Linked DNA regions of Homo sapiens: region 1 is linked to region 2. Evidence: promoter capture Hi-C in 16 types of primary human blood cells and fetal thymus (Javierre and others, 2016). All regions are on one chromosome and are shown on one strand. Each heading gives the region's core, a stretch centred on a gene start or on the middle of the fragment in contact. The rest is flanking DNA. Distances are from core to core; before and after follow the strand shown. Region 1 overlaps TWSG1 (twisted gastrulation BMP signaling modulator 1). Region 2 holds the start of ANKRD12 (ankyrin repeat domain 12).

Evidence for each region. Contacts are between HindIII fragments. The CHiCAGO score rates a contact against its expected background, and 5 or more counts as called.
Region 1: a fragment that was not itself captured here is called in contact with the fragment with the promoter of ANKRD12 in region 2 in 1 of 17 cell types (megakaryocytes); the score reaches 5.6 in megakaryocytes.

The regions. Positions count from the first base shown.
Region 1 is chr18:9,398,437-9,404,344 of GRCh38, reverse strand. TWSG1 (twisted gastrulation BMP signaling modulator 1) reads right to left here. Exons shown (of 5, transcript NM_020648.6): 5 at 1,925-4,999. The coding sequence ends at 4,818. Among named protein-coding and RNA genes, the nearest start is that of TWSG1, 67 kb to the right of the region's middle. The HindIII fragment of the contact is 739 bases long and covers 1,333-2,071 here.
Region 2 is chr18:9,132,277-9,138,143 of GRCh38, reverse strand. It overlaps ANKRD12 (ankyrin repeat domain 12), which reads right to left and starts at 1,363. Exons shown (of 13, transcript NM_015208.5): 1 at 1,179-1,363. NDUFV2-AS1 (NDUFV2 antisense RNA 1) reads left to right here and starts at 1,424. Exons shown (of 3, transcript NR_110772.1): 1 at 1,424-1,780; 2 at 4,634-4,753. NDUFV2 (NADH:ubiquinone oxidoreductase core subunit V2) reads right to left here. Exons shown (of 8, transcript NM_021074.5): 8 at 3,803-3,958. The coding sequence ends at 3,865. RefSeq lists silencers at 596-645, 686-1,085, 1,296-1,645, 1,996-2,085, 2,088-2,261 and enhancers at 1,216-1,265, 1,756-1,805. The HindIII fragment of the contact is 1,483 bases long and covers 263-1,745 here.

The DNA of each region.
Region 1 (5,908 bases), core at 453-2,952, 270 kb before region 2:
ACGGAGTTTCACTCTTGTGGCCCAGGCTGGAGGGCAGCGGCGCATTCTCGGCTCACTGCAACCTCCGCTTCCCGGCTTCAAGCGAGTCTCCTGCCTCAGCCTCCTGAGTAGCTGGGATTACAGGCACGTGCCACCACACCTGGCTAATTTTTGTATTTTTTAGTAGAGACGGGGTTTCACCACGTTGGCCAGGCTGGTCTCGAACTCCTAACCTCAGGTGATCTGCCCGCCTCCGCCTCCCAAAGTGTTGGGATTACAGGCGTGAGCCACTGCGCCTGGCCCACATTTACTTTTTACTGGTTAGTTAAAGCTCAAAGGTCAAAGAGCTGTAATGGCTAACACCCACCAGCTAATGGCGCTAATGGCATGTCTGCCTGGCTTACTGAGCTCAGTGCCTGCCAGGTCTGGAGCAGCCCCATGGGGCCGGATGCGCCATGTTGTCTGCAATGTCTCCTGGAGCCTTGGGCTTGGATGCCTCCCCTTCCAGCTCAGCTTCACTCTCTCTGACTGTCCACATGACTAGCTGCTGTGTGGACACCTTCAGCAAAAGCACAGCTTTCCTGGTCAAACGTTGTATCTGTCCTTGAAACTCATCCTACCTTCCGAATGCCCCAGCTCCTTTCTTAAGTCACTCAGGCTGTCCTCTTGAGTTCTTCCCCTCTCTAGATCCCCCAGGCACGAGGCTGCCAAAACATGGACTCTGAAATAAGGTGGATTTTGCCATGGCAGCACAGTTTGTGGCTCTCAATTCTAACAGTATCCTGTGGGAGAGCTGAGAAAGGTTTTTCCCTACCTTGATCCTTCTGCAACTCCTTGCAACCTTTAGATCATTCTTATAAAGTTGGTTGGCATCTGAAGGCCCACAGAGCAAGCAGAATAGTAAAGTATTCATTTAAAAGGTTCCCCCATATTGGAATAAAGCATATGAAAAAGCAGACAGCAAAATGTTCTAAGATCTGTTCTGAGAGAATCTGTAGAGACATCCTGAGAAAAGAACATTCTTTGCTGATTGTTTTTTTTGTTTGTTTGTTTTTTAAGACAGGGTCTTGCTCTGTCACCCAGGCAGAGGTGCAGTGGCACAATCAGGGCTCACTGCAGCTTCCGCCTCCCTGGGCTCAAGTGATCCTCCCACCTCAGCCTCTAGAGTAGGTGGGACTACAGGCACATAATTACTGTGTCTGGAGTTGGCTCCTGCTGGTGGGTTCGTGGTCTTGCTGACTTCAAGAATGGAGCCGCAGACCTTCTCAGTGAGTGTTACAACTCTTAAAGATGGCACGGACCCAAAGAGAGAGCAATAGCAGGGTTTATGGTGAAGAGCAAAAGGACAAAGCTTCCACAGGGTGGAAGGGGACCCGAGCTGGTTGCCGCTGTTGGCTGGGGTGGCTAGCTTTTATTCCCTTATTGGCCCCTCCCCACCATGTTCTGTTTCTGTCCTATCAGAGTGCCCTTTTTTCAATCCTCTCTGCGATTGGCTACTTTTAGGATCCTGCTGATTGGTGTGTTTTACAGAGCACTGATTGGTGCATTTTACAACCCTCTTGCTAGCTACAGAGCGCTGATTGGTGTGTTTTACAGAGCACTGATTGGTGCATTTTACAATGCTCTTGCTAGCTTCAGAGCACTGATTGGTGCATTTTACAATCCTCTTGTAAGACAGAAAAGTTCTCCAAGTCCCCACTCGAAACAAGAAGTCCAGGTGGCTTCACCTCTCATCAACATGCCCGGATAATTTTTTTATTTTTGTAAAGACGAGGTTTCACCATGTTGCCCAGGCTGGTCTTGAACTCCTGAGATCAAGTGATTTGCCCACCTCAGCCTCCCAAAGTGACACCGCACCCGGCCCGCTGATCACTTAAACACTATCTTCTTTAGACAGAATGTCAAATTTATGTCTATGCTGAAGTTAACAAAAAATATGACTCACTCATTTCAATTTTTTATTAAAATACTTTTTTGTTAATAGGGACAACCAAAGAAAAATACACAATTTTATATGTTGTAGATCATATAAAATACAATAAACATAAACTCTTGGGAATGCAGAATAGATTTCAAAATCTTAAAAGAAGCTTTCATAAAAATAAACTTTAGAAATGTGGCTTATATTTACTGCATTTTTTCAGAAAACTTTCTTTTCTCCATTTTAATGCTACCCTGATTATAAATAATGGTCCAAATTTCTAACATCTTATCAATTTTGCTTTCTGGAATTTTAGAAATCACATGTCTAAATGAAGACCTCTTTTTTATACCACCCTACATAAACACAGAATAGATTTTATTTAAATTACCATTTGATTTGGCACCACTATTGTAAATACAATTTTAGTAATAATTAAATGTTATGGGGGAAAAACTAACAGAAAAACCTGCTAACAAGCACAAGTCTTACTATAAGAAAGGATCTTTTATATATGGCTTTTATGATACCCACTGATTTAAAACCTAGTGCTTTAAAAATCTGGTTATAAAAAAAGTAATAACCTAATTTTTTATTAAAAAAGAAAAAAGAATTTTTACCAAAACTTCAATATAGAAGTGAATGTGCTTAGAATGGTAATAGAGGATCTAACTTTTAACCAGGCTATCAACTTCTGGAATATTTACTTTCAATTTGGAAAAATATTGTTATTCAGAACCTGAAATACATTATAAAACTGGAAATGGAATCTTTTAGGTGAATTCTTTCTTTCAAACCCTCATAAATCAGAAAAAATAAGCCAAATTTGAAGGCAAAAGATCTTTACATTTAGGGATAGTTTCTAATGAAAGAAATCAAGATAAGAAAAATCAATTAAAACAATGTGGTTTAAGAAATTATCCTCCTAATGTAGGGGGTGGGAAACAGATATTACATTTTAAAATTTAATGAAGACCTAAAAAATGATAAATGCAGTTTTAAAATATTTGTTGTCATCATTAAGAAAACATTAGGCATGTTGCCAACACACACACAAACATCACTCCACTCACAGTAGGAAATGACTGAAAAACAGCAGAGTTGAACTGCAGCAGGAGACTGCAGATTCCTTTCAGCTTTCTGTCTAAAGTTCCAGAATACTTTCAGCTCTACAGATGCTCATGAAGAAGGGGAGCTAAATGTTTTCAAGGCACTTTTAAATGAGGCATTCTAGGTAAAAGGAAGAAAAGGAGACCCTAATGTTTCCCTACCAAAAAATATATCCATGAGCTAAATCTCAACTTTTTAAAAGGCTAAAATATCTTGAATATTCATTAGAGTTATTTGAAAGAGCAGAAAAGGTATTAAGACCTTAATTTATAACAGTTGATCATAATATTACAAATGATCTTTTAACTAACTACTATTCAGATCATGAATAATACAAAATGTGTCCAAGAGCATTATCTATTTTTATATACTAAAATATGTAGACGTATAAAGAGGTATTCCTAAAAAGTTGCTTGTAGTTCAAATATGCACTAGAGCAATTAGTAATTTTGTAAAATTGAGTCTGTAATATAAATATTTATGTTTTAGATTCATGCTTTAAGATTGAGATTTTATTACTATGAAGGGCACATAGTATCTTTATTGAAAGAAACATTTATTGAAACATTATATAAAATGTTGACTAAATTCTGTAGTGTATTTGGAGTGAACATCATCTTGAATAGAGATTCTAAAATTTCATAATCTTAACCTCCGACGATATGATTATACTTGTTTAAAAAGAACATTATATCCAGATATAAACTTAACAAATGAAATATTACAAAATATGAACATAGATAGTTTTGTTTCCCATAATAATTCCCAGCATTTTCACCCTGTCCTGTTCATACGAGTCAATTCTCTTCTTCAATTCCTGTCCCATCAGCCGTCTGCTGAAAAACACTGCTTTGTCTTGGCTAAGGCTGCACAAGTTCAGTCTCGCACTGGCTCAGCCTCCCCTTTCAGCAACACCATTTCCCTACCAGGGTACAAGCTGTTTCCTGGTGCTCTAGGTGGAGTCTGATTTGGCATTCGTTCCCCATCCCTAGTGCTCTTTAAGCTGGTACCTGAAGTCACAGAAACGCTTTGCTTGCTAATTATTTACACCAGCAGTGCATTTAAAGCAATTTCATAGGTACACCCTGAAAATCTTGGTAAAGATTCTTCATCACTGCCTATGTCAGCACTTTGGGCAGGGGAAATGGAAGAGAATAGGAAACTTTCTCTAAAGCTTTGTCAACACATGTATTATAGAATGGATTCTACTATGTAAGAGTTCTCAATTATAAAATATGGTAAGCATTTACCTTTTAAAACCAACATAAAAGGGATGAAATTAAGCTTTTTATGATGATATTTTTATATGAGTTATCAGAGTGGTATATCAAATATCTACTCTATTTATAAAATGGATAAAACAAGGCACAATGAGGAATGATGTGCAACTATAAAAACTCAGTGTGCTAACAGTAGCACATGAAGAAATCATAATTCACATCAACATGCTTCTGCTAACACTTTCAAAGCAAAAACCTTTTGGAATGCTAGAGGAAAACCACGTCAGACTTCATGTTAAAAACCTCAGATCTTTCAAGGAATTCTCTGCGCACCTGCTTCTCATATGACCAAAGTTGTACATGTATTCAAAGGAAAGGGCTTATTGCTAGGGGGCAATAAAATCAGTAAGAACAGTTATATAATTAAACACATCACTGGCTATGTCATATTTTTAAAAGAAACTTATTCCAAAGTCTTTACAACTTAACTTACTGGGATTCTGATACAAGATACAACCAACAGACTTACAGAATAACTTTTTATACCTATTATTTTACTAAGTTGCTTTGGTTTGCATTTGTCTTCTTTAAAACATGCAGTTCATACATTTGACAGTTTTACTACCATAGTCAATACATTCTGGACCAATGCACTCGCAGCAGGCATTATGAAACCAGCGATATTTGGATGCTCCCATGGACTCACAGGATATTTTACACTGATGTATGGACATGCAGTCATCAAAATAAACCACAGTACACATGTGTTCTGAAAAACAAAAATTTAAGATTTCAGGGCAAGAAAGAAGAAAAACAAAAAAATAAAATGCTTTATTACCTAGTTGAATATTAACAGTTATTTATCTTGGTTCTCTTATTACTGGTCTGTACATGACAAAGATGAGGTACAGGAAAAAAGATCTTCATTTATTAATTATGTTGAGAAGGAAGTCAGATTCTCCCACTCCATCTGAAGAAGGCAAAGGGCTTCCTTAGCTTCTTTTATTAGATTTCAGGCTTTGATCGAAAAGTTGGATTATTGGGCTTAAAAACATTTGCTATGTTATACAGCTGTGCTTTTAAACTGGGCATTTCCTTTTTTTTTTTGAGATGGAGTCTCACTCTGCCACCCAGGCTGGAGTGCAGTGGTGTGATCTTGGCTCACTGCAGCCTCCGCCTCCCAGGTTCAAGTGATTCTCTGCCTCAGTCTCCCGAGTAGCTGGGATTACAAGCATGCACCACCACAGCTGGCTAATTTTTATATTTTTAGTAGAGGAATCAGAGAATCCACAGAACTAAGTAGAAAATGATAGATCCATAAGTTAAAAACAGACAACAAACAGAACTGCAAATGCAGGCCAGGCATGGTAGCTCAAGCCTGTAATCCCAACACTTTGGGAGGCCGAGGCAGGTGGATCACCTGAGGCCAGGAGTTTGCAACCAGCCTGGCTAACATGGCGAAACCCTGTCTCTACTAAAAATTAAAAAAATTAACCGGGCATGGTGGTGGGTACCTGTAACCCCAGCTACTCGGGAGGCTGAGGCAGGAGAATCACTTGAACCTGGGAGGCAGAGGTTGCAGTGAGCCGAGATTGCGCCATTGCACTCCAGCCTGGGCAACAAGAGTGAAACTCCATTTCAAAAAACAAACAAACAAACAAACAAACAAAAACCTGCA
Region 2 (5,867 bases), core at 114-2,613:
ATGAAAACGAAATACATGACTGCAGATGCAGGCTCATTTCAACTTTAGGATTAGAGGTAATTCCGAACCATTACATACACAGCACTGGATCTGCAACACACTTCACCTTAGTTCGCAGTTTAACCACGGGTGTCCAGTGGAAATTACAATCCCGGTGACTACACTGCTTTAAATGTTTCCTAAGGTTTCAACGAGTGCAACAGTAACTTCCTATCCCAGACAGCGTCTTACTGTTATTACTAAAACAGCTGTCAGCTAAGCTTCGCATACCTCTTTGTACAACCGTTTATTCAACGCTTTGGGATCTGTAAGGATGCGTCACTCCACATCACTCCTCAAAACGAGATCTAAGAACCTGACGTGCTCCAGGGGTCTTGAAGCATCACAAGTGGGTACTTGAAAAACGATGACGGGAACTGCCTGTCCAATGCGGCAAGGTTATTTTACACTGGCATTTAAGACAGAACTGTAGAGTGGCTGCTCTTTCCCCGGACACTACTAAAGCAGCAATTTCCCCTTCTTGATTTCATCCACCTCTCCCAGGACCCGGGTACCTCCGACGCTCCCGGCCCGAGCGGCCGCGGCAGACTCCCCGGCGTCGGCGCACGCTCGGCGGCTGGCGGCGGGAACGCGCGGCGGGCCGGGCGCGCCCCCGCCCCCGCGGGTCCGACCGCCGCACGCCAGCGGCGCCCTCTCGGCCGCGCACACTCACACTCGCACGCACACGCTCCTCCGGCCCCGCCATGTTCCGGGAGGCGGCGGCAGCCCAGCCCCGCCAGCCGCGGTGAGGGGCGCCCGCGACGAGGCCAGCTCGCGGCCCTCCGCCCGGCCCCCGCCCCGCCCCGCGCAGCGCCCCCGCCCAGTTGGCGGCTCCCACCTGCGCCGCGGCTCCTCGCGACGCCGGGAGGGGCGGCGGCGGGCGGGGCCCCGGCGGACCCGCGCCGGGGGGCACTAACGGCCTGTCACTGTCAGGCGAGCTACGGCTCGGGCCAGGCTGGGCGGGCGGCGCGTCGGGACCGGGGGGGGCGGGCAGGGCGCGTCCCCTACCTTGCTCTGGGGAGGGGGAACGGGAGCAGCGCAGAACTGAGGGGATCTCCTCCCTGGCGCCGGGGACAAGCTCGAAACCGCGCCCCTCCTTCCTCCTTTCCTGTCGCCACGCCCCCCTCACCCGTACGGACCCGAGGCAAGGCCGGCGCAGGAGGCTTCACCCCCGGAACGAGTGCTTCGGCGTAGCCGTCGCTGTCGTTGTCTTCGTCGCCGCTGCAGCCGCCTGTAAAGCCGCCGGAGCCGGGCTTGAAAACATCTCCGGTCTCGGTCCGTCTCTCACCACAGCCTCCTCGCTCCCAGGACAGCGTCGCCCCGCGATTGGCTGCGACGCGAGCACGTGACACCCGCGGACACGTGACTACCGCGGGCACGGGACGGGCGGCGTGACCGCCCCGCCCCCCGGCGCCCGCCCCTCCTGCTGCTCAGCCAGGCTCCGCGAGCCGCAGGGCGGGGAAGCGGGACGTACCAAGCGGCAGGCGGCGGAGGGGTGCGGGCCGGAACTCCGCCCTTCGTGCTGGTCGGTCTCCACGCCCCACTCGGACTAGTGTCACCGCCTCCCCGCCGCAGACACTATCCGACAAAGGAGGGGGAATCAAAGGCTGGGCGAAGAGGCAGGGCAGGCGCCGGTGACGCTGCTGGGCAAGCGGGCTCTGCAGTAGCATTTGTGGCGACCGTGGCAGTGGCTGTGACTGGAAGCTTCTGGAAATGGCGGCGATGAGGACCCCCACATAGGGTATTCACCTGTTATTTTTACACGGGGTGGGTGGACGAGCGTGATCCAACTCAGGCAAAATGACGCTGCGACCGCAGCCCGAGGACTAGGCGAAGTTCCCCCGCTAAGCCGGCGGCGGCCGTCTGGCCCCGCACCAGGCCGGAGAAGCTGCACCTACGCCCAGAGCCCGCGGCCCCCCGCCTCAGGTGGGGCCCTGGGCCCCGCCCCGAAAGCGCGGTAGCGTGCACCTGCCCTGGCACCAGGGGGTCTAGAGCGCGTCCCCTCCCAGCCACGCCTTCCAGTGGCCTTTTTAAAGAGGAATTCAGTGCACCCTCCCACACGTAGTGTTGGGGATTTGAGAGGGAGCTGCTCAGGTACTAGGAAGGGTGCCGGAGGAAAATTGACCGTCGCAGCGTGGCAGCAGCGTGTACTCACTCCCTTCTGGGCGCGTTATTTACGTAGAGGTTAATCTGCAACAACAGCGTCTGTTTATGACTTAGTGCATGCAGTTACAAGTTTATGTTACACTGTCCTTTAACGTCTTGATGAACTGAGGGTTCAGGTGTGATCACAGCAGATGAAGTGACATTCAGACCTGACAGGGACGGCGAGGTCCCATCAAATTACTATGTAAAGCATAAACCTGCATTAAAGATCAGGAGTTTTTCCTTTCCTGGGTTCCTGATTTCTCCCACCTACAAATCTTTAGGGTCAACAAGACTAGAAAAAGAGCACCTTATGGCTAGAGGTGGAATAGTGTTACATTTAACTTGGTTATTTATGATGTGAAATACAAAGAAAAAAACAGTCGCCTATGAGAAAGTCAGGAGAGCTCCAGGGTAGGACATTTTCATTGTTACTTTTTTGTGCCACTTGGAAAATTAACTGTTGTTTACCTTCTCTCAATTAAAAAAAAAATCTTAAAGACATACTTAAAAATAATCGTTATAGCCGAGCGCAGTGGCTCACGCCTGTAATCCCAGCAATTTGGGAGGCTCAGGCGGGCAGATGGCTTGAGCCCAGGAGTTTGAGACCAGCCAGGCAACATAGTAAGACCCTGTCTCTAAAAAAATATATGAAAATTAACCAGGCTGGTGGCGCCTGCCTGTGCTCCCAGCTGCTCAGGAGGCTGAGGCCAGGGTATTGCAGTGAACCAAGATCACACCACTGCACTCCAGCCTGGGGACACAGCCTGTCTCAAAAAAAAAAAGCATAATTACTAGTGAATAGTCTGTTTCAAGTACAGGTGACTTTGAGAAATCGAGGATTAGATTAATATAAATTATTCATGCATTAAAGCTGGCTAATGCAAAACTAATGTACTACAGCTAATTTCTTAAATACACAAAAGGGTTTATCCTTTTTTCTAAGTTGTAATATCCATACCACTGCAGAGTACATAATCATACTTCCAATCCCTTCACCCAATTATTTTTTGTATACTTGCAGTGTCAGAATAGCTAAGGATAATGTCAAGTGTTTTGGACCTTTCTTTTTTAAAAATGGTAATGCTTAAGCCGGGCGTGGTGGCTCACGCCTGTAATGCTTGCAGTGAGCCGAGATCCCACCACTGCACTCCAGCTTGGGAGACAGCGAGACTCCGTCTCAAAAAAAAAAAAAAAAAAAAAAAGGCTTCTAGAGACAACTACCATATCCTCCTTAAACCTACAGTGTGCTTGAGGTCTTACCAGTTGGAAATACAGTAACAATTATGTGTTTTAAATAATGTTTAAAGGGAGCACTGACAAAGTTTATAGAAAGATCATGTTAACTTAAAACTTGGCTGTGGCTAAAGATGGGAAAGCAAAACATTTGTAATTTAACCAAATTTTTACTTCACAGTAACCTGATCTTGATAAAAGCGATCTGGAAATTGAAAATGGGTGACACTAGAGTAACTGTTAACTAGATTATATAATGATGTCTTCACAGCCATAGATAGAAGACTTTAAAATGGTCCTCTGTCATTATGACATAATACTTAGAGCTGCAAGTTGCTACGGTTAGCATGAGGATGTACACAGAGCAGAATAAACAAATAAGTTTACGTAGATTGGAAGTCCATATTTTATTTCTCTAGTGACATATTTACAGTTCAATATAAATTAAAGGCCTGCTTGTACACCAAATCCAGGTCCCTTGGGTGGTTCAGTCAAAGAGGTAAGACCTCCAGCTGGCTCACAAGAGAAGCGTCCACTCCTGAAATGAAAAGTAATATTAAACTATTAATGATTAACATTTGTAAATTTTTACTTAAATTGTAATGGTTACCTCACAAGAGCCCAGTTAAGTAACTATTTTTACCCTAAGAACTAGCATAGATTATTTAATTCAAACATTTCAACTGATGCAAGATTTTCTCTTCCTAAATTTAAATATGGAAAAACATCAGACTTCACCATAAACATAAAAAATACAAAAGTAGCCCTAATAATAGTTCCTATTTACTGAGCAGTATGCATACACTAGCTCATTGAATCCTTACGATGCCACAAGACAAGTGATACTGGCTTTATTTTACAGTTAGAGAAACCAAATTTGGGAGATTCAGCATCTACCCAAGAATCAAAGCAAAGAACTACGGCAAAAATACCCAACCCCAGAGAACATTTTTAAAAACCATGTTTTAATAAACTAGAGCACTGTATTTCTTTTTAGAGTTGAATTTTATTTAGATCAAGATCCACAGTCACAGTGAATAGAGGGAATACACACACTTATACATTGTATTTGGAAATAGAAACTGGATTCCTTGAGGAAATATGATTTGGGACAATGTCCCTTAGAAGCAGCGAAGTCAAAATCAGTTTGTATTTATGTATTATAAAGACTATATTAGTAGTAGTAATTTTCTGAAAAAAGTTTCCAAACCAGGATGGCCATAGCAGCCACAAAAGGAAGCAAACAAGAACAAGTCCTGATGGAGCAATTTATGAAGACAGGCAGCATAGAGGGAGAAGAACCTGTCTGTCAACCCCACACACGCTTTCCCAGGTAATTGCTCACCTCTGCCCTGTCTGACCTCTGTTTCTAGAGCCCAGCTCAGACTTACTGTATGTCACCCCTCCACCACTATTCCCTGGCTTTGCTAATTTACCTGTTCCTGCCACAGATTTACCTAAAGAAAGAACTTGTTCAGTTTATATCTTTTCAACCCCCTCTGGCTTTGCCCTTCACATTGTGTCATCAATCCTTTAAGTCTGTTCTTTAGAGCCCTAGGGAATCATTTTTTATTGGAGCCAGGAAAGTGACACCACATAATATAAGATCTTTCAAGATGTCACAGCATATAATACAAGTTACTAAGTAATGAACAATTATCTACAAAGTCAGAACTTAGTTAATATCTTTGGATTATAGGTCTTGTTCACTACAAAAACAGATAAAAAAGCAGTCATTGTATACTGTAAGAGCCTGAAACTTGTAGAGTAAGCAGCAAAATGATACTTAACTTTAAAAAAAAGACAACAGTATTATATTTTGCAATTTTTAAATTTATTTATTATTTTTGAGACAGGGTCCCACTTTGTCACCCAGGCTGGGATGCAGTGATGCAATAATGGCTCACTGCAGTCTTAACCTCCCAGGCTCAGGTGCTTCTGTCACCTCAGCCTCCCACGTAGCTGGGACTACAGGTGTGCGTCACCATGCCTGGCTAATTTTTGTATTTTTCGTAGAGACAAGACCTCACCATGTTGCCCTGGCTGGTCTTGAATTTGTGGGCTCAAACAATCTGTCCGCCTCAACCTCCCAAAGTGCTGGGATTACAGGTGAGCCACTGTGCCCGGCCTGTAATTTTTTATGTTGCCTATTGATAGGCACCACTGCTGCTCTTTAAATGTCAATGAAATTATTTTGGAGAAACTTTCTTCACCTTTACTAGGTTTCTTCTTACGGTTTAAGCTCAGCTACCTCTTCTTTTCTGCCTAAAACTTTTCTCTTGATCAAATATCAGAATGGAATATGATTTAAAAGTTTCATTTTAGACGTCTCCTGAAAGCTGAGCATTTGTTATCTTAAAGCCTCTTACCAGTTTGGATAGATATGGATCTTCCAAAATTAATGAGCTCCTTAATATCGACACTGTTTATCAACATAAAGGATCAAT